Linked DNA regions of Homo sapiens: all the other regions are linked to region 2. The links are contacts of gene promoters, found by promoter capture Hi-C in blood cells and fetal thymus (Javierre and others, 2016). All regions are on one chromosome and are shown on one strand. The core of a region is centred on a gene start or on the middle of the fragment in contact, and the rest is flanking DNA. Distances in the headings are between cores, read along the strand shown. Region 1 overlaps BLM (BLM RecQ like helicase). Region 2 holds the start of IQGAP1 (IQ motif containing GTPase activating protein 1). Region 3 holds the start of FURIN (furin, paired basic amino acid cleaving enzyme). Region 4 overlaps BLM (BLM RecQ like helicase). Region 5 overlaps ARPIN-AP3S2 (ARPIN-AP3S2 readthrough).

Evidence for each region. The method cuts DNA at HindIII sites, captures the fragments that hold promoters and counts their contacts. A CHiCAGO score of 5 or more calls a contact.
Region 1: a contact is called between a fragment that was not itself captured here and the fragment with the promoter of IQGAP1 in region 2, in 2 of 17 cell types (monocytes and total B cells). The highest score is 5.4, in monocytes.
Region 3: the fragment with the promoter of FURIN here is called in contact with the fragment with the promoter of IQGAP1 in region 2 in 1 of 17 cell types (fetal thymus); the score reaches 5.4 in fetal thymus.
Region 4: a fragment that was not itself captured here is called in contact with the fragment with the promoter of IQGAP1 in region 2 in 1 of 17 cell types (total B cells); the score reaches 6.4 in total B cells.
Region 5: a fragment that was not itself captured here is called in contact with the fragment with the promoter of IQGAP1 in region 2 in 1 of 17 cell types (monocytes); the score reaches 5.4 in monocytes.

What each region holds. Positions count from the first base shown.
Region 1 is chr15:90,812,886-90,815,585 of GRCh38, reverse strand. BLM (BLM RecQ like helicase) reads right to left here. Exons shown (of 22, transcript NM_000057.4): 22 at 1-484. The coding sequence ends at 307. Among named protein-coding and RNA genes, the nearest start is that of FURIN, 54 kb to the left of the region's middle. RefSeq lists a silencer at 800-909. The HindIII fragment of the contact is 2,570 bases long and covers 1-2,546 here.
Region 2 is chr15:90,386,844-90,389,543 of GRCh38, reverse strand. It overlaps IQGAP1 (IQ motif containing GTPase activating protein 1), which reads right to left and starts at 1,302. Exons shown (of 38, transcript NM_003870.4): 1 at 1,148-1,302. The coding sequence starts at 1,202. RefSeq lists a silencer at 799-1,578. The HindIII fragment of the contact is 8,546 bases long and covers 1-2,700 here.
Region 3 is chr15:90,867,160-90,869,859 of GRCh38, reverse strand. FURIN (furin, paired basic amino acid cleaving enzyme) reads right to left here and starts at 1,272. Exons shown (of 16, transcript NM_002569.4): 1 at 1,149-1,272. RefSeq lists enhancers at 1-101, 39-148, 1-181, 249-298, 1-740. The HindIII fragment of the contact is 27,514 bases long and covers 1-2,700 here.
Region 4 is chr15:90,734,355-90,737,054 of GRCh38, reverse strand. All of the region lies in intron 1 of BLM (BLM RecQ like helicase), which reads right to left. Among named protein-coding and RNA genes, the nearest start is that of BLM, 18 kb to the right of the region's middle. The HindIII fragment of the contact is 647 bases long and covers 951-1,597 here.
Region 5 is chr15:89,874,959-89,877,658 of GRCh38, reverse strand. All of the region lies in intron 7 of ARPIN-AP3S2 (ARPIN-AP3S2 readthrough), which reads left to right. All of the region lies in intron 3 of AP3S2 (adaptor related protein complex 3 subunit sigma 2), which reads left to right. It also overlaps the pseudogene LOC100631255. Among named protein-coding and RNA genes, the nearest start is that of MIR5009, 7.7 kb to the left of the region's middle. The HindIII fragment of the contact is 826 bases long and covers 975-1,800 here.

The DNA of each region.
Region 1 (2,700 bases), core at 12-2,511, 430 kb before region 2:
GGCTCTTCCTTTGGCTTCTGGGTTTCGTGTTATGCTCAGAAGCTCTTGCACTGAGATGATTCAGCTGCTGCCTCAGACGTTCTGAGAAACAACGGCCACAACACTTGCAGCGGCAGCAAAACATGCTTATTCAAAAGAAAATGTTTATTTTAAAAAGAAGAACTATCACCCCCCAGCATTTATTTAAATATTAATAGAGACGAGTAAAAACTTCAAATGGTATAACAAGAATAACAGCTTTATAGTCACAGATGGTCAGATGCTGACAAACAAGAAAGAGGGTCTATGTACATTGAGATTCGGTTGTTATGAGAATGCATATGAAGGCTTAAGAAACGGTCTATTTATAGGCTTCGGTGGAGCCATAATCCCCAATTTGCTATTGGCTCCTGATGTCGCTTGAGAAGTATGTGAGGCTGAACTGGATCCAATGATGCTGGAGGATTTCGTTTTGGAAGATATCTTTCTACATGTGGCAGACCCCCTGAAATGTGACAAAGAAAAAAATCAAAATGTTAAATGAAACCAAAAATGAATGACCTTCCTCTCAACCTGCACAGAGCTACAATACCACTTCCCTGGGCCTAATGTGTCCTTGTGCATTTTCTGCCTACGAGCCCCCTAGGTAAGGTAAGTTTCCTTTACTACTTATGGAATAAAGGACCGCGGCCCTTCATATAAATTTGTTCTGGATTTGTCTTTCTGAAATGTGCAGGACTGTTTCTTAATTTTCTGACTTGTGACCAACCCACCGCCCCTCTCTCCACCCACACCTTCGGCAGCCTACAACCAGAGCCTGCAAGAGGAGCTGAGGTCCACATGTCCTCATCTATTCTGACCAAATAAAAGAAGTGAAACACCTTGCTGTAAGGCCCCAGCTCCCTGCTGACAGGCACCCCGGAATGACTGGACTTGCACAGTCCAGAGCAAGGCAGCTGTGGGGTGAGCATGCATGGGGTGGAGCTGGGTGGCCAGGAGTGGCAAAGCTGGGCGTCTTCCTGGCCAGCCCCAGGAAGCCCCAGGAAGGCTGCAGATGCGGCCTTCTGTTAGGACCGTGTCCAGCAGCTCCCTGGCTCACCTGCCTACACCCAGAGATCTGCCAGCTCTCCCTCCCACTCGCTGCCTTCTAAAGCCAAGGAAGAAGCCGCCAGAGCCGATTACCAAGTCCTTCCAGCATCTCACTTTCCTTGCAGACCTTAAGATAACAGCTCCCTTCCCACCCTTAAGTAAAATAAAAACAAACAAAACCATGGGGCCGGCATGTTTACAGTGATGGCTGTGGGCAGCATTACCCGCAGAAGCCTTTCCTGCTGCTCTGTAACCGGCTGATGTCAGGCCCCACACTAATTCCACGGCACCAGGGCATACAAGTAGCCTCCCGTCTGAATTGAGGGTATAGGGCCACAGCCTGTGGGTAATGACATTCTGATGGAGCTCCATGACTTAAACTCTGGCTCCAAGGCAGTTTTACTGCAGAACTGGCAGAGATCTGCTAGACTGGCAGAGATGCAGCCTGAAGTTTCCCTATGCTGATTTCCTGCTGAGAAATTAAGCCCAGAGAGAAAACCTGCTGTTTATGTTGATTTACAGAATGAATCGGCCAACAGCAGCCTCCATTTCACCTGGGCCATCCATTTACTCCCACTCAGAGAGCCCAGAACACAACTGGTTCATTGTGTGTTGTTCTGAAGATGTGAAACTCTGAGGGTAGGGTGGGGAGGTGAGGTTGCTGGCAGAGAGCCACATTTATTCTTTCACTGCACAGGGACTCTCAATCCGGGGAGCACACTGGGTCGGTGGAAAGGAGAGTGGAGCAAAAAGAGGCTGCTCCAAGGGTAACACAAAGTCACACAGTGCACTGGCTTTAGCTGGTAGGGCTTAAAAAAGAATCCCATCTTGGCTGGGCACAGTGGCTCACGCCTGTCATCCCAGCACTTTGGGAGCCAAGGTGGGTAGATCACCTGGGGTCAGGAGTTCGAGACCAGCCTGGCCAACATGGTGAAACCCCATCTAAAAATACAAAAATTAGCCCAGCGTGGTGGCGTGCACCCATAATCCCAGCTACTTGGGAGGCTGAGGCAGGAGAATAGCTTGAACCCGGGAGGCAGAGGCTGCAGTGAGCCAAGATGGTGCCACTGCACTCCAGCCTGGGTGACAAGAGCAAAACTCCATAACGACAACAACAACAACAAATCCCATCTTAAACACCCAGGCTCACTGAAAACAAGCATGGAAATGGGTACAAGTGTGAGCTTTACTGCTTCTTATCAGATTAGGTTCCAGATGATGCTGCAAAGTGCTTCACTCTTACAAACAAAAGTTGTGAAAATTAAATAAGGGAGCCAATAGCAATATGGTTTGCTTTGTTCTAATACATAAAGATGAGATGGAAGACCATGCGTGTTTTTTAGGAGTCTCCACAGGCAACATGCAGAAGTGAACGTGCTCTGGGCAGGTGTGGGCAGGCCAGTGTCCGCTTCTACCTTTGAAATCGAGACCAGGCAGGGTTGTCCTCCGATAAGCCCTCCCCAGGCCAGGCCTAAGCTTCCTCTTCAAAAACCCTGGGTGTTGAGCCAGATGCCTTTTAAGGTCTCCGGCTCTGTGTGAGTTACTGAGGAAATGAGTATTTCCCAAAGTGGAGGAATAAATGATGGAAATAAGAAAATGTTCTCACTGAAGAGCACTTACTGATCACTTGCG
Region 2 (2,700 bases), core at 53-2,552:
CCTGACCAACACAGTGAAACCCTGTCTCTACTAAAAATACAAAAATTAGCCAGTGTGGTGGCCGACGCCTGTACTCGGGAGACTGCAGGAGAATCGCTTGAACCTGGGAGGTGGAGTTTGCAGTGAGCTGAGATTGCACCACTGAACTCCAGGCTGGGCGACCAGAGCAAGACCCCCTGTCTCCAAAAAAAAAAAAAAAAAAGTCACCTCCCGTGCTCATACTGTCTTCCCCAGGCCCCTTCTCCTTACCTACATTACTCTGTATGGCTAGTAAGTTCAGCATCTTTTATCATTATTGCACCTTATAATCATTAGCTTGCACACCTGACTCTCTGATTAAAACGCTCTTTGGAGACAGGGCCTGATCTTACTCATCTTTAATTTCACAAACGTGGCACAATACCTCACGTATAACTGTTGATGCGTGAAATGTTGATCCTTTAAAAAAGAACATTATTCCCACAATATAAAATAAAACCGAAAACCTCAAAATCCCAAAGGGTCCTCCTTTAGCCAATCCTGCCTGCAGTTCAATGACGTCCAGGGCCGACAACAGAAAATGAGGAAGTCAGAGGATTTTCTGCTTCTTTTTTTTTTCTTTATTACTATTTTACTTTTGAAATCTTGAGGAGGGAACTAAGCCCGAGAAAACTGAAGTGACTTGCCCAGGACGGCACCTCGTAGCTAGCCTGGGACCGGACAGGTCTGGACCCTGGTCTATCCCTTGGGTCTACCCCGCAGGCAACACTAGGGCAGCGCCTTTCCACGAAACGGGCAGAGCCCGCGTACCCAGACCCCCAATCCCCGGGACACGCCCTGCGCGGTCATCCTGCCACCTCACTCTAGGCCGTCTTCCCCAATCTCGGCCGAGCCTGGGCGGCGAGAGGCGCTGGGTGGGGCTCCCCCTACCGCGGCCCCAGCTAAGGCGGGAGGCCTCGGGGGTCCTCTCCGCCGCCTCGGACCCCGAGGGGGCGCGAACCAGGGGCCTCCCCGCCCGCCGCCCGCCGCCCCACCGGGACGGCTCTTCCGGGTCCGAGCTGCCGGCAGCCGCCCTGCCCCACCCGCCCGGCCGAGCCCCCAGGAAAATCGCGCCTCGTCTGCAATTAGCCCAGCCCGAAGCCCCCGCGCCGCGGAGCCCCGCACTCACAGCCATAGTGCGGCCGGGCCACGCCCAGCCCGTCAACCTCGTCTGCGGCGGACATGGCGGACGAGCCCGAGTCTCTGCTGAGGAAGCCGTGAAACCTTGGAGGCGCGGACGGCGGTAGCTACAGCTCCTGCCAAGTGCGCGGGCTTGCCGGGGTCCCCGAGGCCCCGCCCCGTGCCGTCAGCCCCACCCCGCAGGCCCCGCCCCAGCGGCACCGCCCCAGCGACACCGCCCTGAGCGGCCGGAAAGAGGCGGGGCCAGAGTCACCGTGCCCCGCCCCTAACTCCGCCCCCTCAGCCCGGCCCCGCCCTGCATCCCGCTATGGTCTCCGTAGGCGGAAGGAAGAAGGTAGAGCCCATCCTCCAATCGGGCTCACGCTGAGCTTGCCCTGCCGGGAATGCCCGCCCAGGTTTATAGCCCCGCCCCCAAGGCCACTGCCCTATCCGCAACTCTAACCGAAAGGCTGCCGGTGTCTGCTGCCTGAAATCAAAATAGTGGGTCATCTCCCTTCTCTTGCCGGCCCAGCTAACCTCTGCACCAATATTTGGAGAAGACACCCTTTGAGGTGACCCAGGTTGTCTTGTTGGACACAAGCAGGCCCCAAACTGCCATGAAAGCCCTCCAACCCCACTCTCCGCAGTTTGGCAACCTGGCCTCAGTCCTCTTAGATTCGGCAGCAGTCACCAGATTACCCAGGTACCCAGGTATTTGAGATGCGGATGCTAAAGCCGAACTCTGTCCAAATTCCCTACCTTTGGATCCCTTGACATTGTTCTTTGCAAGTTCTTTTTAAAATAACTCTTTTCCCGTATCAGGGATGCCTCTGCCCCCTGCACCTTGTGGCTTGCCCTTCAGATATTGGTATTCAACGGTATTCTGTCCGCAGCCCTCTTCTGTTTATTCTTTTTTCTTTTCTTTCTTTCTTTTTTTTTATTTTCTTTTTTTTTTGAGACGGAGTCTCGCTCTGTCGCCCAGGCTGGAGTGCAGTGGCGCGATCCGGGCTCACTGCAAGCTCCGCCTCCCGGGTTCGCGCCATTCTCCTGCCTCAGCCTCCCGAGTAGCTGAGTCTACAGGCACCCGCCACCGCGCCCGGCTAAGTTTTTGTATTTTTAGTAGAGACGGGGTTTCACCGTGTTAGCCAGGATGGTCTCGATCTCCTGACCTCGTGATCCACCCGCCTCGGCCTCCCACAGTGCTGGGATTACAGGCGTGAGCCACCGCGCCCGGCATTTTTTTTTTTTTTTTTTTTTTGAGACGGAGTTTTGCTCAGTCGTTCAGGCTGGAGTGCAGTGGCGCGATCTCGGCTCACTGCAACCTCCGCCTCCCGGGTTCAAGCGACTCTCCCGCCTCAGCCTCCCAAGTAGCTGGGATTATAGGTGCCCGCCACCACGCCCAACTACTTTTTTTGTATTTTTAGTAGAGGCAGGGTTTCACCATGTTGATCAGGCTGGTCTCGAACTCCTGACCTCAGGTAATCCACCCGCTTCTGCTTCCCAAAGTGCTGAGATTACAGGTGTGAGCCACCGCGCCCGGCCCTCTTCCGTTTATTCTTTGCC
Region 3 (2,700 bases), core at 23-2,522, 480 kb before region 2:
GGACAGGGCTGGCCCCACCTACCCACTTGTCCTCAGGCCTAGAAGAAAGGTCAGCCCAGAAAAATAGCAATACTTGCTGCTTCAGGTGCCCCACCCATCCTGGAGACTGGCCCCAGGGGAGCCCGCAGTGGGTCTTTGGAGGGGGAGGGGCTAGCCTAGGCTCAGATGACTGCCACCCAGGCAGAGGCGGTGGGAAGTGGAGCTTCCCAGTTTCTTCCAGCCAGCTTGCCTCTTCAATCTGCATAAGGCAAAATTCTTTAAAGTGGGTTCTCAGAGGTGCCTCCCTGAGAGGGAGGAATGAGGACAGGATTGGGCAGTTGAGCACCTCTCTCTGCTTCACCCAGAGTGTCTCACATTTTAGGGTTTCACATGAGATTGTATTTTACAACAATTCTGCTGCTAAAAAGAATTTGAAAGCCACTCTCTGTGAGACTTCTCTGGAAAAAAATCCCATTTGACCACAACTGGTGACTTCTGCCTTTATCTCATTGCAACAAGTCCTGTGGGCAGGTATTGTTCTCTTTATCACTCTCAACTGGCCCTGGAGCCCAGGTCTCCTGACCTGGGGCCCTAGGGGCCCAAGGTCCTCTGGATCCCACCTTACCAGTTTTACACAGCAGTTAGCAGGACTTGGGCATGTGACAGAAGTCTGGAGATGAGTGAGAGGAGCAGGGCCTGATGGGTAAGTGGGGGCTGTAAAGGGGCTCCATTTTCCCAGCAGGGCTCTGGGAGGAAGAGTCCAGCTAGGCCTCTCTTTATCCTTGATTTGGGGCTAATCCAGAGAGGCTCCTGAGAATCACATAGTCCTAAATCCACCCAGTCATCCTGACTCCAAGCACTCCTGTTGTCTCCTTGGGGTGCTCTGGGAGTCTTCTCTGAAATCTCTGGTCCACCTCAGGCACAGCAAATAAAGCCTTCGGCAGCAGCACCCACACCTAGTTGTAAGCAGAATGTCTACACAACATTCAGACGTGCATAGAAGGGTGCACAACAAAATTCCATTGGTGTTCTCTCCGAATGAAAGGGTCACATTTGCGATCTTTGTTTTCTTCTTTTTGCCTACCTGCATTTTTCAGGAATGTCTACAAGAACTCCTAAAATAATTAAACCTTTAAGTCAATGCAAAATCGAATAAAGCATGTCCATACTTCACCATCCAGCTCCAGAGCACCTGGGATTCATCCTGGCCGCTGCTGCTTCCCCGCCACTCACTGCAGCTGCAACAGTCAGGCTCCTATCCCTTCACAGGGCGGGGCCCTTCCAGTTCTGGCTAAACCACTTTGGGAAAACCTTCTTTATATGACAGGCAAACAGGGTGTCTGTGGGTGGGGGGAGGAGCTAAAAGTGATGTGGTGGTGACATATCTGGTCGCACTGGAACTGGATCCTAACATGGCCAGCCAGCCCTTCTCATTTTCCTCATTTATTGGGGTGGGTCTGCACTTACCTTCTGCCTGGCTTTGCTGCATCCCAGCCACTGGCTGACTTAATGACTTCCTTCCGCCAGCTCCAGCTCCTTGTGTTCTGCCTTGCCTTCCATGGCCAGCCAGTGCTGCCACAATTATGTACCTAATAAATGCTTTGGGTGCAGTCTCGCCTGGCAGACATTCATTGAGCAGCTGCTGAACGCTGGGCTCTGGTGCCCCATAGCTGGGTCCCTTAGAGCTTGTCCATAGGAAGCCAGAGACCACCTCTCTAGTAGGGTTGCATGGAGGTACCTGGGACACACCAGGGTCTTCCTCAGTCTGCGACCTCCCTGGCCTTCCAGCTTCAACAAGCCTGCTGCCCATCCTTCTCTCTCTCGATTCAGAAATGTGAATCACTCAATCCTCATAGTTTTTTTTGTTTGTTTGTTTTATGGGTTTGTTTTTTTTTTTTCTAGACAAGAGTCTCGCTCTGTTGCCCAGGCTGGAATGCAATGGCCTGATCACAGCTCACTGCAACCTCTGCCTTCTGGGTTCAGGCGATTCTCATGCTTCAGCCTCCCAAGTAGCTGGGATTACAGGCTTACGCCACTCGTATTTTTTTTTTTTTTTTTTGTATTTTTAGTAGAGATGGGGTTTTGCCATGTTGGCCAGGCTGGTCTCGCACTCCTGACCTTAAGTGATACACCCACCTCGGCCTCCCTAAGTGCTGGGATTATTAGGCGTGAGCCACCACGCCCGGTCCCCTTGTTGAGTTTTCAATCAGTTTGTCATCCTGAACAGGGTTTCTCAACCTTGGCATTATCAACATCTTGGGTCGGATAATTCTCTGTAGGGGACACTGCACTCTACATTGCAGGATGTTCAGTCGCATCCCTAGTCACTAAACATTAGCTGCTAGTAGCATTCCCGCTCCCATGATGACAACCAAAAAGATCTCCAGGTATTGCCAAATGTCCCTTGGGAGACAAAAATCTCTCCCAGCAAAGAACCACTGTCGCAGAATGAGGAGTGGGAACGTCACAGGATGGTGGTTAGTGTGCCAGGGTTCGAGGCAGCAAGAGTTGTCTGCTGGGAACTAAGCTCTGAGACAGCTAGCAGTGAGGGAGAAAACTCCCAAACTTGAAACTGCCCAGTATGCCAGCACAACAATGGGCCGTTTAGTGATCAGGGCAAACAATCATGCATCCTCATGACATCTGAGATCACTTTCCATCGTGTTGGTGATAATGCTGAATCAAGGAAAGGATCAATCATGTTGATCATACTCCATTTTC
Region 4 (2,700 bases), core at 25-2,524, 350 kb before region 2:
CATCATTTGAATTAGATTAGTTTGTGTTTGTACTGTTCTTGTGGATTTGATTTTTGAATATATAAAACATTTACATAGTTCTAAAAGTTAAAACTACATAAAAGACTGTTTTTCCCCACAGAGAAGTGTTCTTCCCTCTCCATCCTTTGCCATCTACTTCCTGTGGGTTATCAATTTCAATAATTTCTGATTTATCTTTCCTGTTTTTCTTTTTGCAAAATAAGCAGACATTAGAGTCTCATATTTTCCCTTCTTTCTTACATAAAAAATAGCACACTGTATGTACGCTTTCCATTCATGTTAGAAATCACTCTACACCCGTTTGCAAAGATTTTCCTCATTCTTCTTTACAGCTGTACAGTACTCCATTGTGTAGATATTTACCAACAAATTTCCTGTATGGACATTTAAGGTATTCCCTGATATTTTACAATTACAAATAATGCTGCAACAAATAACTTTGTGCATTCATATTTCCCTACTGTTGAAAACGTAAGGCCGGGCACGGTGGCTCACACCTGTCATCCCAGCAATTTGGGAGGCAGAGACAGGATTGCTTGAGTCCAGGAGTTCAAGACCAGCCTGGGCAACATGGTGAGACTCCGTCTCTATAAAAAAAATTTTTAAATTAGTAAGGCGTGGTGGCATGCACTTGTGGTCCCAGCTACTCCAGAGGCCAAGGTGGGATCAATTGAGCCTGGGAGTTTGAGCTGCAGTGAGCCAAGATCACACTACTGCACTTCAGCCTGGGCAACAAGCAAGACCCTGTCTCAAAAAAAAAGGAAAGAAAGAAAAGAAAATGTATCTTTAGGGAATATTTCTACAAGTGGAATGGCTGGGTCAAAGGGCAAATGCATGTGTAGTCTGCTGGATTGCCAACTTCTCCCTCAAAGGAGGTTTTACAAGTTTGCATTCCTCACAGCCTCACCAATGGGGCTTCTTGTGAAGCTTTCTAATTAGTGCAGAGCTGATAGGTGAGAAACGGTATTTCAGTGCAGCTTTAAATTTACACTTCCTGTTTAGGTGAAATTGAATATTTTCTTCACATATTTAAGGATGGTTTTTGAATCTTTTTAAAAAATTGTATCTGCTCATGTATTCTGCCTTTTTAACCAAATTTTAGTATTTTTTTCTCTCAATTTAGACTAGGGATAGTAGGTCTTTAAAATGTATTTTGCAGATTTTTTTCCTGGTTTCTCATCTATCTTTTAAATTTGCTTATGGTGTTTTTCATTTTTGTAATCAAGAATTTGCTTTTCAATGTAGCCAATTTTTCCCCCTCTTTTATTGCCCTTCTCCACATCCAGGTTACAGAAAACTCATCTATGTATTCTTCTAGTAGGTAATTTAAAAAAAATTAGATTTCTGGTTCATTTGGAGTTTATTCCTGTGTCTGATATAAAGTATAGATATAATTTTGTTTTTTCAAGTGGCTAACAAGTTGTCCCAGCACTATTTATAAAGAGTCCATCTCTGCCCTAATAATTTCAGAACTACCTTTATCATACACTAAATTCTTCATGTGTTTAGGAGACTAATTATTGACTTTCCATTCTATACCATTGGTCTATACCACAATATTATCATGATAGAAGCTTTGCAACATGTTACAATATCTGGAAGTCTACTTTCTCTTTGTAGCTCTTCTGTTTTCCTATTCTTATATGTTTATTTTTCTATATGAACTTTAGAATCAACTTGTCTAGTGCCAGAACTCTGTTGATATTTATATTGAGATTGCATTAAATTTATATATTAACTTAGGTATATGTATTAACTTAAATATATATATATATATATATATATATATATATATATTAACTTAGGCACTTTTATGATGTTGTTGTCCTGTCCTAGAACAAAAGATTTCATTTGTTTAAGGCTATTTTTGTTATTCAGAAGTGTTTTAAAGATTTCTTCACCTAGGTTTTACATGTTTTTAAATTCCTAAATATTTTCTCTTTTTCTTGTTGCTGTAAATGGGATTTTACCCTTCATTATATATTCAAACTTGTTGTGTATATGAAGACTACTGATTTTTGCATATTCTTATAAAATTCCTTTTCTGTTTAGTTAGTTTCATTATTGATTTTCTGCAGTATTCCAGACACACTACCATATCACCTGCAAGTAGGGACAATATTACTTTTTATTTTCCAAATCTTGTGCCTCTAATTGATTTATCTAACTGCATTGGCTAAGCCCCCAGTACAATGTTAAATACAAGTGGAGTTGGTGAGTATCTCTATATTTTTCTCAATCTTAGTAAAAATGCCTCTAGTATTTTCCTATTAGATAAAATACAGGATTTAGGAATAAAGTCTCTCTCTCTCTCTCTCTCTCTCTCTCTCTCTCTCTGCGTGTGTGTGTGTGTGTGTGCGTGCGTGCGCGCGTGTGTGTGTATGTGTGCGTGAGAGACAGAGACAGAGAGAGAGAGAGAGAATACCATCATTAAGAAGTATTGATTGGCCAGGCATGGTGGCTCACATCTGTAATCCCAGCATTTTGGGAGGCCGAGGTGGGCAGATCACCTGAGGTCAGGACTTTGAGACCAGCCTGGCCAAGATGGTGAAACCGCATCTCTACTAAAAATACAAAAATTAGCCAGGTGTGGTGGTGGGCGCCTGTAATCCCAGCGACTTGGGAGGCTGAGGCAGGAGAATGGCTTGAACCTGGGAGGTGGAGGTTGCAGTGAGCTGA
Region 5 (2,700 bases), core at 138-2,637, 510 kb after region 2:
CAGGCTGGTCTTAAACTCCTGGCCTCAAGTGATCCACCTGCCTCGCCCTCCCAAAGTGCTGGGATTACAGGCATGAGCCACCGCGCCCGGCCATGTTTCAGGTTTATAAAATAGAGATATGAACATGGATGGTGGTGATGGTTGCACATTATGAACGTTATCGAATGCTACTGAATTGTACACTTAAAAAATGGCTATGATGGTAAATTTTATGTTACGTGTATTTTACCACAGCTTAAAAAAAGAGAGAGGAAGAAAAGCCAGTGCAACACCCTACAAACTGGAACACTAGCTCTTTGGGAACAAGGACCTGACATCAGAACAAGAAGGCTATAAGTTCCCAAACCTTAAAAGTATGATCTTTTTCAAACTGCATCCATTTCTCACGTTGAAGATGTGAAACCCAATCCCGTTCCTCTTTATGTGTGGGTCTGTGATCTTGCCTTTTCATACTGAGCATCTAAATTTCTAAATACAGTACTTCCTATTGCTTCAAAGTCTTCTAACTTTCTTCATCAAGTGAGCTACATCTAGCTTCATCTTCACTCTTAATACCCACTAATTTCCATATATATGACATTTTGGTCCTTGTTTCCCAAAGTCATAGTTCAGCAGACGGGGAGTTTGCCCAGTTTTTCTTGCCTTGACTTTTTTCCTCTTGTTCAGCAAATTTCACTGGATTTCCAGCTGCTGTGTCATAATCCCTAGGTACAGCTGTTCTGTCTCTGCCAAAGCTGTTGCTTGCAGGGCTCCCATTTGAGCTGCCATAGCTATCTGAGTTACTGGCATTCCTGATGCCAACAGGGCAGCAACATTGAGAACAAAATCTCTAGTAACTGGAGCTATTTCTTGTTTTTGTTTTTCAATGATTTCTTTTTCTTTTAAAAAATTTTTTCCCAACACCCATCCCAACTATTTCTTTTTCTTGCTGTTCTTGTAATTTCTTTGCCTAGTCCATCCTCCCAGCTAAAGCTTCTTATGCATCCTTTGCTGTGCCTCTGCCTCTGAAGAGAGATGAACTGGAAATCTGGCTTAAACTTCTGCTAAATCTTAGTTTCTCAATGCTCTTCTTTCTCTCTTGTCTTCTGCTTCCTGTACTACTTCTGCTTCTTTCCTATGCATGTCATATTTATTTATTTACTTATTTTTCACACGCAACACAGATGTAGTTTTTATCTTGAACAGGAGCAAGATCTGATCCATGGTTTTCTTTCTTTCTTTTTTTTTTCTTTCCTTTTTGGAGACGGCGTCTCACTCTGTTGGCCAGGCTGGAGTGCAGTGGTGTGACCTCAGCTCACTGAAACCTCCACCTCCTGGGTTCAAGTGATTCTCCTGCCTCAGCCTCCCAAGTAGCTGGGACCTCAGACATGCATCACCACGCCTGGCTAATTTTTGCATTTTTAGTAGAGACAGGGTTTTGCCATGTTGGCCAGGTTGGTCTCAAACTCCTGAATCTCAGGTGATCTGCCTGACTTGGCCTCCCAAAGTGCTGGGATTACAGGTGTGAAGCACCATGTCCAGCCCATGGTTTTCTTTTCCTGCTTCTAGATCATGATCGTTCTTCTCTCTGCTTCTGGATTGAGACTACTTCTTTTCCCTCTACTACGATGATGCCTTTCACGAGACCTGTATCTTGAGTGACTTCTGCTTCTTGATGGCTTTCTTTGTGTTTGTGTCTGTCCTCATCATTTTCAGATGAATGTATTTATTTATTGAGACAGCATGTCACTCTGTTGCCCAGGCTGGAGTGCAGTGGCACAATCACAGCTCACTGTAACCTCTGTCTCCCCGGCTCAAGCTTCTCACCACAGCCTCCCGAGTAGCTGGAATCACAGGCACACACCACCACGCCTGGCTAACTTTTGTGTTTTTTATAGAGACAGGGCTTTGCCATGTTGCTCAAGCTGGTCTCAAACTTGTGAGCCCAAGCAATTTGCCCACCTTGGCCTTCCGAAGTACTGAGACTACAGACGTGAGTCACTGCGCCCAGCCCATTTTCAGATGAATTTAGTCCCTCTCTTCCTTTATCAGAATAATGTTCTTTGTCATTATGCTCCTCAGAAGTGTATTTCTTAGAGGATTTGTTGTAGGATTCCTGTCTTCTTGCCTCATCATGAAATAGGCTTATTATTTTCCTACCTGAGTCTGCAATGTCTTCAGTTCAGCCTCTTTGCCCATCAGCATGCGCTTTGTGTTTTCGTCCTTCGTTTTCTTTCTTGTTTTCTTTCTCTTGACCTTGATTGTGATCTTGAATAATATTTTGAGTAAGAAAAACAGATGCATCTGACAGTTCTTTTTCCACCCACTATCTGGGGATGTCTTTTTCTGGGGCTAGTCCATCTTGTCCTGGATAACTACCCTATCTTGAGAACCCAGTCTTAGTTTCATGAAACATCTTTAATGAAAACAGCCTTTTGGGATGGTGCTGCTGCAAACTGTGGTCTGGCTCTCCTCGCATGTGCTCTGGCTGCCGCAGAACAGAGCTCAGGCCGCTAGGGGGCACCTCCACGTGCCGCTTTTAGCAGTACCAGCCACCTCAAAGCTTTGCCACAGACTGAATAGCTCCTTCCGGGGGCCTGGATGGCACCCAGGGGATCTGCCGTTGCTTTTTTAATTTATTTTTTTACATTTAGCTCATTAATATCTGTTAGATATTTTTATGTCTGCATTGAAATATGTAACTTTATTTTTCCCCCAAAG